2 separate regions of the Homo sapiens genome follow, and region 2 is linked to region 1. Evidence: promoter capture Hi-C in human tissues and cell types (Jung and others, 2019). All regions are on one chromosome and are shown on one strand. The core of a region is centred on a gene start or on the middle of the fragment in contact, and the rest is flanking DNA. Distances in the headings are between cores, read along the strand shown.

Evidence for each region. The method cuts DNA at HindIII sites, captures the fragments that hold promoters and counts their contacts. A contact is called where the count stands out against the background at its distance.
Region 2: a contact is called between a fragment that was not itself captured here and the fragment with the promoter of RAB40C in region 1, in 2 of the 25 tissues and cell types used here (IMR-90 fibroblasts and dorsolateral prefrontal cortex).

The regions. Positions count from the first base shown.
Region 1 is chr16:588,546-591,801 of GRCh38, reverse strand. It overlaps RAB40C (RAB40C, member RAS oncogene family), which reads right to left and starts at 1,736. Exons shown (of 6, transcript NM_021168.5): 1 at 1,369-1,736. The coding sequence starts at 1,510. RefSeq lists silencers at 1,526-1,845, 1,936-2,055, 2,126-2,175, 2,186-2,245, 2,566-2,875 and enhancers at 2,220-3,093, 3,216-3,256. The HindIII fragment of the contact is 16,228 bases long and covers 1-3,256 here.
Region 2 is chr16:340,673-343,928 of GRCh38, reverse strand. The region is part of intron 2 of AXIN1 (axin 1); the gene reads left to right. Among named protein-coding and RNA genes, the nearest start is that of AXIN1, 10 kb to the left of the region's middle. RefSeq lists an enhancer at 1,913-2,464. The HindIII fragment of the contact is 5,555 bases long and covers 1-3,256 here.

The DNA of each region.
Region 1 (3,256 bases), core at 487-2,986:
GACATGCTGAAACCCCGTCTCTACTAAAATACACACAACAAAATTAGCCGGGCGTGGTGGCATACACCTGTAGTCCCAGCTACTCGGGAGGCTGAGACAGGGGAATCGCTTGAACCCAGGAGGCGGAGGTTGCAGTGAGCTGAAATTGTGCCACTGCACTCCAGCCTGGCGACAGAGTGAGACTCCGTCTCAAAAAAAAAAAAAAGAAAGAAAAGAAAAGAAAACAAAACAAAACAAATGTTCAGTAACTCATTACAGAGGTATTTTCTTCTAGCACAAAGCGTTGACTCCCTCAGCAGTAAGCAAATACCTCAGGGGAACAGCGTGCCTATAAGGACCTGTCATCTGTGCACGCTCGAGACAGGGTCCCAAGAGCAGCCCAGCAGCACCTGCCACCAGACCTGGGTCCGTGACACCTTCCCCGGGCCCATGACACCTTTCCCCAGATCTATAACACCTTCCCTCGGACCCCAGATGATCCCAGACCCATGACACCTTCCCTTAGGACCATGATGCCTTCCCCCAGATCTATGACACCTTCCCTCAGACCCCAGATGATCCTAGACCCATGACACCTTCCCCTGAGATCCCAGACCATGACACCTTCCCTTAGGCCCATGACACCTTCCCCTGAGATCCCAGACCCATGACACCTTTCCCCAGATCTATGACACCTTCCCTCGGACCCCAGATGATCCCAGACCCATGACAGCTTCCCTTAGGACCATGATGCCTTCCCCCAGATCTATGACACCTTTCCTCGGACCCCAGATGATCCTAGACCCATGACACCTTCCTTTTGGCCCATGACGCCTTCTACCGGGACCATGACATCTTTCCCCGGACCCCAGATCCTGGACCCATGACACCTTCCCTCGGACCTATGACACCTTCTCCCAGACCCCAGATCCTGCACCCATGACACCTTCCCTCCGGCCCACGACACCTTCCCCCGAGCCCATGACACCTTCCCTCGGACCCCAGATGATCCTAGACCCATGACACCTTCCCCAGGCCCATGACACCTTCTCTAGGACCCATGACACCTTCCCCTGGGCTCCAGATCCCGGACCCATGACACCTTCCCCTGAGATCCCGGACCCGTGACACCGTCCCCCAGACCCCGGGTCCATGGCACCGTCCCCGCTGGGCGCGTCCCTCTGGTCCGTCCTCCTGCCCCCCGGCGTCACCTCGGGACTGGAGCACGGGCACCCCGCAGCCACCGAGCTACCGAGTCTGGAAGCCAGGCAAAGGCGTTCCTGGGAACGTTCGGCGGCGCTTGGAAGGGCCGGGCCGAGGGCGAGCTCCGTGCCCAGCTCGCCGGGCTCGGGCCCCGCGTAGCAGCGCGCGCCGCGGGCCGGGCCTTACCGTTACTGTAGGCGTACGGGGACTCTGCCGCGCCGTCCTGCAGGCTCTCCAGGATCTCGCCCTTGCCCACGTCGCTGTCGCCCACCAGCAGGAACTTGAGCAGGTAGTCGTAGCTCTTCACCGGACTGCCCTGCGAGCCCATGGCCGCGCCGCCTGCGCCCCGCGCCGGCCGCCTGCCGAAGCACCGCCGGGTGAGGCCGCGGCGTGAGAGAGCCCGCGCCCCGCACCTGCGCCCGTTGCGTCCGCCCCACGGCGGCCGAGTGGGCGCGCCCGAAGCCCAGCGCCGGCCCCGCCCCGCCCGCGCCCGGGCGCACCTCAGCCTCGCCGCCGCCCCGCCGCTTCCCGCACCACCAGGGCCGCCGCGCCGCCCCACCCCCGGCCGCGCCGCCGCCATTGGCCACCCTTCGCCCGCCCTCCCGAGCCCATTGGCCCACCCGCCCGTCCGTCACGACTTCCCCGCCCTCACGGCGTTCCACACGGCGCCGCCAGACCTCCGGTCGCACCGCCTCTTCACCACCCCGCCCTGCCTTCCCGTAGTCACCAGAGGTCGCCCGCCGCCCTCCTTCCCTCAGCCATTGGCCTGTCTGCACGTCTGTCATGACCGCCCCTCCCCCGCCTTTCCCACACGGCGTTGCGGAGACAGCGGACGCCTGCCTCATCGCCGTCGCCATTGGCCACTCGCCTCCTGCTTTCCCGGAACCATTGGTTCGATTATAAGTTCACCAAGATCATTCCCTTCCCTGCGGCTGCCTCCCAGAGAAATCCCAGAGCCGCCGGCCGCCCCGCCCCCGGCCCACAACGCCGTTGTCCTCGCCCGCCCCGTCGCCGGCGCCATTGGGTCGCTTGCATGTCCATCACGGCTCTGCTAACCCCGCCCCTTTCCTACACGCTCGCCAATCAGGGGCTCGGAAGTCCACGTTGTTTGTATCCGCCCCTTCAACGCGCGGACGGGCGGCAGGATGCAGGCGCGCCCGAGCCGAGGCGATGCGGCTGAGTCCGGGAAACGAAAGCCCCTCGCAGGCTGTGCCGCCTGCTTCCGCAGAACCCTCGGAGGGAGCGGCGGGGTGGCCCCGGGCGCGTCCTCTCTAAGGCGGTGCGGCCAATCGGCGCTCGATGAGGCGGAACTTCCTCTCCGGGGCAGGGGCGGGACTTCCGCCCGGCGGCGGCGGGGCGCACCGTTGGGTCACCAGTGAGTCTGCAAAGTCGCTGAGGTTCTGGGACAGCGCGGCGTCACCGAGCGTGAGCCTTCCGCCCGGGGACGCGGCCGCCACAGCTCGGGACGCGGGGAGCGCGGCCGGCGCGAGCTCAAGACCCGGCCCGACGTGCTCACTGCGGCAGCGGCGCCTCCTGGACGGGGACCCAGGGCCCGGACCGCGCTCTTCCCGGGGGCGCCGCCGAGCCCTCGTCCCTGCCGGGCCCGGCTGCCGCAGGTGCGTGGGCGAGCGAGGCGGCTGCGTCCGCGGGCCCCGGCGTGGGGTCGGGGGTTGAGTGGGCACGTGGTTCTTTCTGGGGTGACGAGAAGGTCCTACCGTCGTGGGGATGGTCCTGCCTCTCTCGGTGAAGTTACTCACTCGGAACGGGTGAGCTTTGTGATACGTGCTCTGCGTTCAGTAGCGCTGTTACAGTCGTAAGTAAAAGCAGTAACGTCAGCGCCGACCCAGCGCAGCCCTCTCCAGACCGGGTGCGGAGCCCGTCACGTCTGCCCCGCCGGCGAGGAGCAGAGCCCGGCAAGAACCCTCCTCCAGAGGGGCCCCGACCAGGGCTGTGCCTCCGGGAGCAGGTGCTGCTTACACAGAGGGACGCCAGGACGGGCAGCCCCACACCTCCAGTGACCTCCCGTCCCCCAGAGCTGAAGACATGGCCTGACTAAGCGGCGACCACATCGACG
Region 2 (3,256 bases), core at 311-2,810, 250 kb after region 1:
TCCTGGGTTTAAGTGATTCTCCTGCCTCCCGAGTAGCTGGGATTACAGGTGTGTGCTACCATGCCTGGCTAATTTTTGTATTTGTGGTAGAGACAGCGTTTCGCCACGTTGGCCAGGATGGTCTCGAGCTCCTGGACTCCAGTGATCTCAGCCTCCCAAAGTGCTGGGATTACGGGTGGGAGCCACTGCACCTGGCTGGTTATTTTTTTTGCTTGTTTTTTTGTTTGAGATGGAGTCTCGCTCTGTCGCCCAGGCTGGAGTGCAGTAGTGCAATCTCAGCTCACTGCAACCTCTGCCTCCTGGGTTCAAGTGAGTCTCCTGCCTCAGCCTCCCGAGTAGCTGGGATTACAAGTGTGAGCTACCATGCCCAGCTAATTTTCTGTATTTTTAGTAGAGATGGGGTTTTACCACGTTGGCCAGTCTGGTCTCGAACTCCTTTCCTCAAGAGATCTGCCCGCCTCAGCCTCCCAAAGTGCTGGGATTCCAGGTGTGAGCCACTGCGCCCGGCCCCGGCTGGTTATTTTTAAGATGGGACTGAAGTTGAGGGCTGGGCTGCAGGAGGAAAATGAGCTCCGTTCTGATTTCCACTGTTGGAACCCCAGTGCCTCCCTCCCAGCCACTCTTCAGTTCTTGGCTGCGAGCAGTAGCTTTGCTGTCTGTCCTTGGTTTGCTGTATTTGTAATAAGGAACCTTTGCTATGAAATTAGTGGGATACATTGGCTTCTCCTGTCTAATTTTGTGTAGCTCTGTCTACACAGTTTGGGTCCTAACTTGACTGCTCTGGGGCTGCTGGTGGCAGAGGACCCTGGGGCTTGGGAGTCGTGTCTGCGGTTGAATCCTCTCTGTGGGAGGTGGCCTGTGGTGCAGCCTTGTGGCTTGAAGATCTCTGATGTTGGAATGGTTGCTTGTCAGCACAGACAGGGCATGAAGTCCAGGCTGCGTTCCTCACATTTAGACCATTCTCTTTGTCCTGCCAGGTGTAGGTGAGGGTGCACTAGGTTGGAAGTCGTGGAAACCCACCCACCTGAGCCCAACCCTGAAGGGCACTGTTGAGGCAGAGCCTCAGGTGTGCCTTAGGGCCTGGCACCTTTGCTTTGTGCCATTCTGACTTTGCCTGCCTGGTGGGCGACTTCGTGGGCTTTGTGTTGGAGGTGGCTGCTGCAGTGACCTTGGGCTCTGGGCTCCCTTGTTTACAGATGCTTCCCGCAGCTCTGACGGATGGGCCCGCTGTTGCTCTGAGGAGGGCACGTGTGCCGCTGTGTCCCGTCTGTCTCAGCACAGTCACGGTGCGTGCGCTGGGGGCTGTGCAGCAGGGTCACTCCTGAAGGAAAGTGGGTTCTCCACCCAGACAGACGGCTGCTCCCCAGTGGGGAGCTGGGGGCAGTCCTCCAAAGGAAGGCTGCGGGTAATGCAAAGGGAAAAGGAGAGTGGGTACTGAACAGGCGGCTGGTGAGCATTGCTACCACAGCAGGGCCTGGAGCTTAGGCCTCACGTGTTAGGGGATGCATATCCTGTGGAGAGCCGGTTAGTCGTCCCGGTGTGTCCGGAATTGGTGGGTTCTTGGTCTCACTGACTTCAAGAATGAAGCCGCGGACCCTTGCCGTGAGTGTTACAGTTCCTAAAGGCGGCCTGTCCGGAGTTTGTTCCTTCTGACGTTCGGAGGTGTTCGGAGTTTCTTCCTTCTGGTGGGTTCGTGGTCTCACTGGCTTCAGGAGTGAAGCTGCAGATCTTCGCGGTGAGTGTTACAGCTCATAAAGGCAGTGTGGACCCAAAGAGTGAGCAGCAGCAAGACTTACTGGAAAGAGAGAAAGAACAAAGCTTCCACACTATGGAAGGGGACCCGAGCGAGTTACCACTGCTGGCTCCCGCAGCCAGCTTTTATTCTCTTATCTGGCCCCACCCACATCCTGCTGATTGGTAGAGTCCAGTGGTCTGTTTTGACAGGGCGCTGATTGGTGCGTTTACAATCCCTGAGCTAGACACAAAGCTTCTCCACATCCTCACCAGATTAGCTAGATACAGAGTGTCCACACAAAGGTTCTCCAAGTCCCCACCAGAGTAGCTAGATACAGAGTGTCGATTGGTGCATTCACAAACCCTGAGCTAGACACAGAGTGCTGATTGGTGTGTTTACAAACCTTGTGCTAGATACAGAGTGCCGATTGGTGTATTTACAGTCCCTGAGCTAGACATAAAGGTTCTCCACGTCCCCACCAGAATCAGGAGCCCAGCTGGCTTCACCCAGTGGATCCCGCACCGGGGTTGCAGGTGGAGCTGCCTGCCAGTCCCGTGCCGTGCGCCCGCACTCCTCAGCCCTTGGGTGGTCAATGGGACCGGGCGCTCGTCGGGGAGACTCGGTCCGCACAGGAGCCCACGGAGGGGGTGGGGGGCTTAGGCATGGCGGGCTGCAGCTCCCGAGCCCTGCCCTGCAGGAAGGCAGTTAAGACCCAGCGAGAAATTGAGCGCAGCTCCGGTGGGCCGGCACTGCCGGGGGACCCAGCACACCCTCCGCAGCCGCTGGCCCGGGTGCTAAGCCCCTCATTGCCCGCGGCCGGCAGGGCTGGCCGGCTGCTCTGAGTGCCGGGCCCACCAAGCCCACGCCCACCCGGGACTCCAGCTGGCCTGCAAGCGCATGCAGCCGCGGTTCCCGCTCGCGCCTCTCCCTCCACACCTCCCCGCAAGCTGAGGGAGCCGGCTCCGGCCTTGGCCAGCCCAGAAAGGGGCTCCCACAGTGCAGTGGTGGGCTGAAGGGCTCCTCAAGTGCCACCAAAGTGAGAGCCCAGGCAGAGGAGGCGCTGAGAGCGAGCGAGGGCTGTGAGGACTGCCAGCACGCTGTCACCTCTCACCGGGGTGGAATTTGCGTGGAGGAACGTGCCAGGAGGGCCAGCCCTCGGGTGCTGACCCCTCTGTCCTGGAGGCTACTTTGCCTGCATCTCTGCCACAGTCGCTCATCCCCTGCGGTGGGGCTGCTGCGGTCCAGCACGGCCACAGGCATCCAGTTCCCCTGTGGGACGCCTGAGTGCGGGTCCTTGTTGGTCCGTGTGTGAGCCGCGTGGTGGTTTCACATACTTGATTTGAGGAAAGTGAAGTGTTCTGCTTAGGTCTTTGTCTCAGCCTAGGAAAGAGCTCCATTCCTGGCCCTTTTCTGTGTTTGTCCCACTCACCCACTGTCATTTTGAGCTCCTGGGCCAAGGTTTCATGGGGTTCCTCCCTGGCTCCCCCGCTCTGCCTCTGTGGGAACACTTTCTGCACCCTC